3 separate regions of the Homo sapiens genome follow, and all the other regions are linked to region 2. The links are contacts of gene promoters, found by promoter capture Hi-C in human tissues and cell types (Jung and others, 2019). All regions are on one chromosome and are shown on one strand. Each heading gives the region's core, a stretch centred on a gene start or on the middle of the fragment in contact. The rest is flanking DNA. Distances are from core to core; before and after follow the strand shown. Region 1 overlaps PCDH7 (protocadherin 7). Region 2 holds the start of PCDH7 (protocadherin 7). Region 3 overlaps PCDH7 (protocadherin 7).

Region 1 (3,283 bases), core at 491-2,990, 350 kb after region 2:
TACACAGGCTCATTCAACAGTGTAATTTTTGAGATATTTCACTGAAACAAAATGGGCATAATTATTTAGACGGACATCTGACAATGAATACTTTTCAGACTTGGCTGGGTAATGTTTTTAGCATCACTGATCCAGCAAGATCCAATAATACGACTGACTTTTTGTTTAATAGAATTCCCTCTAGAATGTTCTACTCCATTAGTAAAAGGGAGTTGCTCAAGTTACATAGATATGTTCTCAAGGACATTGGCTAATAAAACACAGACATTTGTGTCTAGATGCTGAATGTTTATATGCAGACATTTGCTCAAGCAAACCATTCTCTAAATATATAAGTTGTGTTAACAAAATGATTACTGTATTAGACTTACTCAGACCTAATCATATTTTTTAAATTACTGTAGCCTATGGAAATATTTCTTCCCAAATATAGAATTGTTTTATATATTTAGGTTACTTTGCAAAGACTATAACAACATTCATAAAAACAATCAAAAGAATACATTATCAGAAGTCACTTTGTAGAAAATAGAGGAAGTTTTATTAATTTTTGTCCCAGACTTTTATATTCTACAACTTAGTATGTTAGATTCATGAAGATGAACAAATATAGGTATTTGTTAATGCAGTGCTGCAAAGTAGTGGCATTCAGAATTATATCAAACACAATTTATACAGGGCCATCCAAAAAAGACATTATGCAGTGTTTAGCTGAGTTTGTATAAAATACTACAGCTGTCTCTAGGATGCCTTTCCCTTGTGGAAAAAAGCTTAATTCTGCCAAGGCAAGAGTGCAGGGCCCCTTCTTGCCCTTATTTGCTTTTAGAGACTGACACTGTCAAGTTGATAAATGGTCTTTGACAGAAGCAAAGGTAATTCAAAGCTCATTCACAGGTAGAATAGTCTTTAATAGATTCTTTTTTAAAACTCTCTGGTGGAGAAAAAATATATAGAGGGAATGCCTAGTATTAACTCACCGTGAGGCTGTTATTCTCCCAAAACCCAAAAACCCATAGTCTCTGTACAGCTATATTTTTGTCATTCTATCATGTTTACTGTGTACATGTGTGTCTGTTGTTTACAAACAAGCTTATTTATTTTGTATCCATATGAAAGAAAATCAGTGTTTAATTAAGAAAAAAATCTTTGGTTGAAATGTTGTGTGCTTTTTTTGCAGGAGAGGGGGCAGCCTTTCATAAACTGAATAACGTTGAACATATATTTGACAAGCTCACCCTATCATAATGATGCTTTGGAATTACAGAAAAGAGTTGAAGGTTTTAGTAAATGCAGGCAAATTTTAGTTCTATTCTGTTTGCTTTTGATGTTTGGCAAATCAATTCATTAGTGATAAAATAATGGGGTAAGTCAGCAGAGAAAGCTCAATTCATTGCATTTATCCCACCCACCATAGTTCATCTGCAGAGTGGTTGCTCTGATTGTGTTAGATCATATTCCCATCATCCTCCCAGGCAGAGATCCCTCGCATTTCATTTAGGTTTATTCCTTTTGTTCTTTTCAAAAAAGACTCAGGAATACAGCATTGAGAAAGCTTTTCCTGCAGTGTTAAGGAAATTCTCTAATTAATGGTAGATACAAATGACAGGATACATGCTTTTCTGGTTATTCTGAAGGTGGTGAGAACACTATTTAGTTGCTATTACTTTTATATTAGCTCGTATAAATAACTACTCTTATACTAAACCAGTATCAGAGCTATGAGTCATGTTTACTGTCTTCGCTTTTCTAAGCTTGGACATGTAATGAAGTTAATTTTCTTTGGAAGACAGTGTTGGAGTGATCTACAACACTCACATGGCTGCACACTAGCACACCTCTAAGAAAAAAAATAGAACTGATTGAAACCCTAAGGCAATCATTTTGGCAAATAAAAATGACCAATTCAATGAAGGGCTTTTCTGGGTTTCATCATATTTGGTAGAAATAATATGTTAAATCTTTTTTAAATGCATACAGGAAAAGAATTATAATTACATCAGTCATTCTGTTGAGCACTGCAGTTGCATCACCCTGAGATATGTAGTCATGCATATATCTAGAGGAGAGTGGTATAAATAAGATCATATATGTCTCACTTAAAGAGCCTGTAAATGTATAGATGTGTAAAGACTCATGCATGAATAATTATGCTTTAATATAAGCAAACATAATGTGGAAAGAGATAATTTTTTTTAAAAAAGGAGGCATTGACAATGTGAGCATAAATACAGAGGAAAGAAGCAGGCTTTTGAACTAGGTGCCAATAAAAGCTTCTTGGAGGAGTCACCATTTTAGAAATTGGAAGATGTGTAAGATCATGTAGAGTTGCTGGTGGAAGGGGGCAACTTTAAGAGTGAGGAACACCATGTATGAAGATATGAAGGCCAGAAGTCCGAGAACGTTTCACAGAGTTGTGTTATCTCAATCACATTACTCACATCACATTATTGGAATGTGTCAAATATAAGAATGGAATGATGGCTGACATATTCACCCATTAATTCACTCATTCATTGAGTTCATGGAGTTCCTGCAATGGGTTGTAAGAACTCAATGAAATCAATGGGTGAGTGTAACACTAGAAAAACGTTCAGAAATGAATAAAATATAGCAGCTGTGTAGGGGTCATTCTTTAGTGCGGAGTATGGAAGGAAAAACAGATAATCAAAAGGCAGTATAATAAATTCTCAAGTTGGAGCTTTCACAGAATATCATGGAAGTAAAACACATGTCCCAGCTAAATCTACTTGAGAGAATCAGGAAAAAATTAACAGAGAAGCTGAATGTGGCCTAGATCCTGAAGAGTATGTAAATATTATAGTAGATGGAGAGTGTGAGATGAACAGTCAAAGCAAGTGAAATAAGTATTTGTAAATGCAAACAGGTATAAAAGGGCATAGTTTTTTGGGGTAGAAGGCCTTGATTACTGTGCTTAGGGGATTAGATTTGCTACATAGCATTACATCATTGAAAGCATCTGAGCAGAGAAGCAAAAAGATCTTATTTGAATGTTAGAACCATTGATTTATAGCACACATAAATAAACAAAATAGATTGCTGTATACTCAACCCACTGATATTTAATATCTTCTAAGTTATGATGATATCTTAGACCAAGTAGAGATTATAATGTGTCAATCATTACAAAGAACTGAAGAATCCATCTGCTATACTATTAGCTCAACTGACTCATCATTACTTAGTCTAATATAAACCTCTTAATTTCAAGGAAAACAGAATAATTAAAGGGATAATAACTCATAGCAGGTCATGTGCAGTTTAG
Region 2 (3,332 bases), core at 9-2,508:
CCACCCACCGCCGCCCCTGCCCCCCGCAACCATCCAAAGTCTGAGCTCCCAAAAAAGGATCTTTCTCCAGCTCTCTGGAGTTTGATGTTCTCTCTTCACTACTGCAGCCCGTCATGGTTTTTCAGAACAGAGTGGCTTTCTGGGCGCTCGTAGGTTCCCCAGGACCCCGATAACCATGTCCTAACCAAGATCCTAAATCGCGAACCGGAGACACTTTCCGGGGGGAGGAGGACGTCGTCTGAGAGGGAGGGAGAAGGAGAAACCTATCCTGACACCAGCTCCGAAAGCTCTCACGCGTGAACTGGGCATTAGTCAAGGGAGGAGGAAATTTACCAGCCCGAGGGAGGGAAAACAAGTCCCCCAGAGAAGACGGCGGTACTCGCTAGGGAGGGGGACTGGGCTTTGGCTTAAAGAGGACTGGCTGGGATTGGGCACACTTTGAGCGGCCCCTGGAGCTGAGGCTGGGCTTTCCCGAGCGCGGCGGCTGGCTGACGCTCCCTCCCGCCTCCTTATCCCGGGCCCTCCTCCCTCGCTCTCTCCTAGTGTGTAGTTTCGGCGGCTCGGCTGCTACTGCCGCCGCCGCTGCAGCAGCAGCGTCAGGGACAAGCCTGATCCGTGAGCGAGCGAGCACCCAGCAGCAACCACCACTTTGGGCAACTTGCGGGTTTCCTGCTCGCGGGTAGCGAACGGGAGATTCCCACTAGCGGTTCAGTGTCTCCGAGCCGCTGCAGCCCGAGGGGCGGCGGGAGCGCCCGCACCAGACTCTCCCAGACGCGAAAAGGGACGAGACAACTGCGGAATTCACCAGCCGTGCCAGGGCACTTCCGAGGCCACAACCGACTGACACTTTTTCTCCCCTTGGCAAACTGGATTTTTTTTTTTAAGCTACTTGGCAGCTGTCTCTGACTCCACCTCCCCCTCCACCCCCGCCCGAAAGCCTTTGGCTTTTCTTCGGAAATCCAGACAGAATTGGGCATCTTTGTTAATTGCCGTTGGGGACGCCCGGCCGTGCGCTTTCGCCGGCTAACGTCGCCTGTGCTCCGAGCCTGGTTTGCTCACCTTTGAACTGCAAAGGGATCAAGTTCAGCTTGAGTTCCCTGCATTGGGAAGGAGAGAGAGCGTGCAAGAGAGCGAGTGGGAGAGGGGGAAAGGGGAAAGGAGAGGAGGGAGGAGAGAGAGGAGGGAGGAGAGAGAAAGGGAGGGAGGGAGGGGAGGGATCGAGAGAGAGCGGGGAGAGAGAGGCTGCAATCTCCTCCCTGAATCGCGCACAGCGCTGCAGATCCCACTGCTCCGACATGCGGGCCGAATGCAGGTGAGAAAAGGCACGGACTCTGCGGCTGCGAACCCAAACTTGGGCACCGCACGGTGCGCACTGCTCAGCCTTCGCCCCCGTGGGCGAAAGGCTGCTGCGGTTTCAGGCGGCTGCTTCGTGACTAATGACCTTGCGCAGAGTTGTTAAGAAAAAAGAGAAACCCGCGCTCTCCGGGGTGAGAAGGGACTGACTCTGGGCGTCTCTGAAGATGGCTCGGGCTTCTCTTTGGCGCGCCGGGGGGACCCTGACACTGACCGCTCTGTGACGCGAGTAGTCTCCCCTGCACCGTGCCCGAAGCGACGTGCCGGGGGATTTTTCATTCTCGATCTGTTGACTGGCTCCCCCGCTGCATGAGCAGAGTCGGAGTTGAGACTGGCTTGTTGCTGGCCCCAGCGCCTGGTGCAGGAAGCGACTCACGTTTGTCTGGGTGGCCGGAGCCGGAGCAGAGCCTGGGTTTGGAGTGAGTGCCTGGAACGTGAATTGGACTCAACTCGAGTAGCAGCAAAGACCAGCGGGCTGGCAGGCGGGGGAGGCTGCAGGCTCATTCCCCACCTCTTCCCAGCCCCACTGCCCGTCTGCCGGAGCGGTTCTGGCCCCTTCCGACAGAGCGGGGACTAGAGCCGGGGATTCTCCGCCCGCTGAGGGGATGACTCTGGGTTGGGGGAGCGCCGAACCCGCGGCGCGCAGTGTCCCGTGAACTGTGAGTACTGCGACTGAACGGCGGCAGGCGAGCGGGCGATTAGCACCCATTGCATGAATTATGAAACAATAACTTTCGGAAGAAGCAGGAGGAAAAAAAGAAGCATCTATCGCTGCCCTCCCACCCCCATTCCCGGCCAACTCTCCACGCCGCTTTTGCCCCCTCCCTCCCCTCCCTCTCGCTCCTTCCTTTCCGGGAGAGGGGAGAGGACTCGGGGGAGGGCAGGCGGCCGGCCCCGGAGGAGGGGGGCGCCGAGGGGGCTGTGGTTAGAAGGAGCAGTAGCAGCAGCAGCAGGAGAAGATGCTGAGGATGCGGACCGCGGGATGGGCGCGCGGCTGGTGCTTGGGCTGCTGCCTCCTCCTGCCGCTCTCGCTCAGCCTGGCGGCCGCCAAGCAGCTCCTCCGGTACCGGCTGGCCGAGGAGGGCCCCGCCGACGTCCGCATCGGCAACGTGGCTTCAGACCTGGGCATCGTGACCGGATCGGGTGAGGTGACTTTCAGCCTGGAGTCCGGTTCCGAGTACCTGAAGATCGACAACCTCACTGGCGAGCTGAGCACGAGCGAGCGGCGCATCGACCGCGAGAAGCTGCCCCAGTGTCAGATGATCTTCGACGAGAACGAGTGCTTCCTGGACTTCGAGGTGTCGGTGATCGGGCCCTCGCAGAGCTGGGTGGACCTGTTTGAGGGTCAGGTCATCGTGCTTGACATCAACGACAACACGCCCACCTTCCCGTCGCCCGTGCTCACGCTCACGGTGGAGGAGAATCGGCCGGTGGGCACACTTTACCTGCTGCCCACAGCCACCGACCGCGACTTCGGCCGCAACGGCATCGAGCGCTACGAGCTGCTCCAGGAGCCCGGAGGCGGCGGCAGCGGCGGCGAGAGCCGGCGCGCCGGGGCGGCCGACAGCGCCCCCTACCCCGGGGGCGGCGGGAACGGCGCGAGCGGCGGCGGCTCGGGAGGCTCCAAGCGGCGGCTGGACGCATCAGAGGGCGGCGGCGGCACCAACCCCGGCGGCCGCAGCAGCGTGTTCGAGCTGCAGGTGGCGGACACCCCGGACGGCGAGAAGCAGCCGCAGCTGATCGTGAAGGGGGCGCTGGACCGCGAGCAGCGCGACTCCTACGAGCTGACCCTGCGAGTGCGCGACGGCGGCGACCCGCCTCGCTCCTCGCAGGCCATCCTACGGGTCCTCATCACCGACGTGAACGACAACAGCCCCCGCTTCGAGAAGAGCGTGTACGAGGCCGACTTGGCTGAGAACAGCGCCCCGGGGACCCCCATCCTGCAACTGCGCGCAGCCGACTTGGACGTGGGGGTCAAC
Region 3 (3,458 bases), core at 429-2,928, 270 kb after region 2:
AAAAAAAATTAGTCTATTTTCTCCTGAGAATAATTATTTCCCATGAAGATGGTTTGTAGCTATGAGTGCCTTTCTTAAAAGCACACAGAAAAGCAAAAAACAAACAAACAAGGAAAAAACCCACCTATTTCTACATAAGCATAAAATGATTCACTATTATATAGATATTGTAGCAAATCTGAAAAGCCAAACCAGTCAGAGACGTGTAGATAATCCTGGTTTCACCTCCTCCCACCAAGAAAAGTCTAATGACCTTATAATATCATTATGAAGAAATGGTTGAACAATGACAAAGGTGATCTTTGCACAATTTGATTTTTCTTATCTGAAATTTAAAACTGTTTTATTATAATCAGAATCCGTTTGAAAATGTCTTTATTGGCCGGTCGCGGTGGCTCATGCCTGTAATCCCAGCACTTTGGGAGGCCGAGGTGGGCGGATCACGAAGTCAAGAGATTGAGACGATCCTGGTCAACATGGTGACATCCCGTCTCTACTAAAAATACAAAAATTAGCTGAGTGTGGTGGTGGGCGCCTGTAGTCCCAGCTACTCAGGAGGCTGAGGCAGAAGAATCACTTGAACCTGGGAGGCGGAGGTTGCAGTGAGCCGAGATCACGCCACTGCACTCCAGCCTGACGACAGAGCGAGATTCCGTCTCAAAAAAAAATAAGAAAGATAGTATCTTTATCTTTGGGCATAACATTCTACAATACAGTGTGACATTTTACACCTACAGGGAAATCACAGTATTCATAGATCATAAATTAGAGAAATTGGTCCTTTTTCTAGTCCATTCCTTTATGATTTTATGATGAGAAAGCTAATACATATTATTCTTCTACACTACTCCAAAATCTTCTTAAAATTAAACAAACAACAACAAAAACAAAACTTAATCCAAGTATATCATGTAATTAATTTACAGATCACCTAAGTAAGAAGGTTAGGAAAAAGTAATAATCCATATCTATTTTATACCAGGTTTTTACTTGAAAATCTTTTTTTTTTCTTATTTACATATTACTGGTATGTCTTTTTTGTAAGGACACCCAGCGACTGCCTCAAAAGCTTCTAAGTACAGACGTCAAGTTGGCTCCATGAACCTCATTTAATAGCTATAAAATGAGGTGGATATTATTCATAGTATCTCTGGGAAGTTTTGCCATTAGTAATTCTTGAATTATTTTACATAATTTTAAATCATGAAAATGGCTTGTATAATAGTATTTTTCTCACCTGTATTCTCTGCTTCTCAGGTGGCTGAGGCAGGAGGAACGCTTGAATCCAGAAGTTCTAGTCCAGCCTGGGGAACATAGTGAGAACTTATCTCCAAAAAAAATCAGTTTTCTTTTTTCTAGGGGCCTATATAGAATTAAAATAAATGTGAATACATTTATTTCTGATATATTTTTGGAAATATTTTGAGACATAATAGTACCATAAGAATATTTTTATTTTTAAATATTAGTTGGAATATGAAACAACGAAATAAAATATTGGTGCATAGTCATACTAATGAAACCTAAGAAATACTTTTCTTATTAGGGCAATTTAGGAGTGTGTGCCAAGGAGGAAAGAACCCTAGAAGTATATTAGGGGACATTTAATTTCTAGGGAGGGTATTGTACTGCAAATGGTGGTCACTCACCAGGTCACTGTCAAGATGAGACTGAGCTAAGGCAAGAATATAAGTTATTTTAAAGGCCAGATTTGCATCTGTGAAAACATGCTGTTCCCTAGAAAGCACACAGACATGAGTTGCATAAAAATACTCATTTGTAAAAATTGTGTGTTTTATTCAGTTTGGCCATCTGAATCACCACGTGAGAAAGGAATATGAAAACGTTAGACATCATGGTAGGCAGAAACTGCACGATAGTACCATGTGATAGGAAATGAGGGATGCATACTGCAGAAAACACATTATTTTGGCATGTTTCTGCCCACAAGTGTATCAACTCCATTACATTTTTCTGTATGATGAATTACTGAGAATAATTAGACTCAGAATATTGTAATATATTAGTTAGATAGATGGGTAGACAGAATAGTCACCTACATACTCTTAGTTATAAACAGTTGTAAACACTATAGTCTGAATTAAACAGAATTCTCAGTTTATGAGAAGCCCAACATTTTCCATATGCACTGTCATATTCCATTTTTTCTAATATTCATATTTCATTAGCATTTAGTACACAGGCCTTGGATTGTTGAAACAAGAAATATAAATATATTCAATTTCTATATTTGTGAACTATTTATCATTTAAGTTATCATCAAGGCCGAGTTAGTTTTGTTTAAGACACTAAATCAATTTAAATCCCACCTCTTTTACTTTTGATATGCAAATATTTTTACTTTGATGTTGTAGCAATACAAATTGAAGTTTGCAACATGAACTGCTAATGCTAATTTGATTACTTTTGTATTAGTGTTTAGTGTTACAAAAATAACAAGAGATTATTTTTTAAATGAAACTGGGAATGGAAGAACTCTTTCTTTGCAGGCCCTGTGCAATGATGGTAGTATTAATGCATGTACATTAATGCCTGATGATTCTTATAGAACAATGAATGTGATTTTGAAGGCAAATCATTCAAGATTTTTAGAAAAACTGACAGCTTGATTTCTCTTTTTTAATTGAAAGTTCATCAAAAAGTCCTCACCTTCCTTTTTAACAGGTCAGAGACTTCAAATCTACTTAAAATATTTGTTGTAGATGATTTAGACCACAATTTATTTTTAGCATTAAAAATGTTTTATGTGAAGACAAGGTGCCTGAATTGTGAATGCAAAACTTTTTGGACAGAATCAAATCACAGTTTTTTTTTTCCAGAAACTTGTTTCTTAGATTATTTGATTTATTTGATAAAGTTGAAGAGATTTCTCATGATCTGTCACAAGAATGGTGTAAATATCTGACTGCAAAACAAGCTAAGATAGGTACTCCTAAAACCTGTTGAAAAACAATTTTTTCTCTTTCTCTTTTTAAATAGTACTTATGAATGGTATCTCTCCAAATATATACATCTCACTAGTACATATAGCTATATAATCTGTAAGATATCCCAGTGATGGAGCTGCAGTAATATCGGCCACCTGTAGTGTGCCTGCAGCGTGCATGTTGCTTGTCTGTTTCTTGATGAAATGTCTGTGTAGTGTCTGTAATTTGCATTATGCCTGAAAGTCTCTATGCTCATTAACCTTTTACAGGTGCCGCACCATTCCAAGGAACTGCAGGTACTAAAAGAATGGGCAGTACTTACAAAGTAGAGGCACAGAACCCTTGTGAGCTCTAACCTCTCCTTTTGCCTACTTTTAGGCAATGTTTTGGAGGTCACTGGTCTAACACTCAATGAGTTAGAGATTCATAACCAAGCTAAGGAAGTGAAACAGAGGAGTAGCTAATGATTGAATAGGGGTTATGTTGTATATTTCCAACATATCACTGATT

The links. The method cuts DNA at HindIII sites, captures the fragments that hold promoters and counts their contacts. A contact is called where the count stands out against the background at its distance.
Region 1: a contact is called between a fragment that was not itself captured here and the fragment with the promoter of PCDH7 in region 2, in 1 of the 25 tissues and cell types used here (aorta).
Region 3: a contact is called between a fragment that was not itself captured here and the fragment with the promoter of PCDH7 in region 2, in 1 of the 25 tissues and cell types used here (hippocampus).

The regions. Positions count from the first base shown.
Region 1 is chr4:31,070,260-31,073,542 of GRCh38, forward strand. The region is part of intron 2 of PCDH7 (protocadherin 7); the gene reads left to right. Among named protein-coding and RNA genes, the nearest start is that of LINC02497, 99 kb to the right of the region's middle. The HindIII fragment of the contact is 5,052 bases long and covers 1-3,283 here.
Region 2 is chr4:30,719,111-30,722,442 of GRCh38, forward strand. It overlaps PCDH7 (protocadherin 7), which reads left to right and starts at 1,259. Exons shown (of 3, transcript NM_001173523.2): 1 at 1,259-3,332. The coding sequence starts at 2,313. LOC124900844 reads right to left here and starts at 11. Exons shown (of 1, transcript XM_047416545.1): 1 at 1-11. RefSeq lists an enhancer at 2,068-2,778. The HindIII fragment of the contact is 10,727 bases long and covers 1-3,332 here.
Region 3 is chr4:30,986,321-30,989,778 of GRCh38, forward strand. The region is part of intron 2 of PCDH7 (protocadherin 7); the gene reads left to right. Among named protein-coding and RNA genes, the nearest start is that of LINC02497, 180 kb to the right of the region's middle. The HindIII fragment of the contact is 8,514 bases long and covers 1-3,458 here.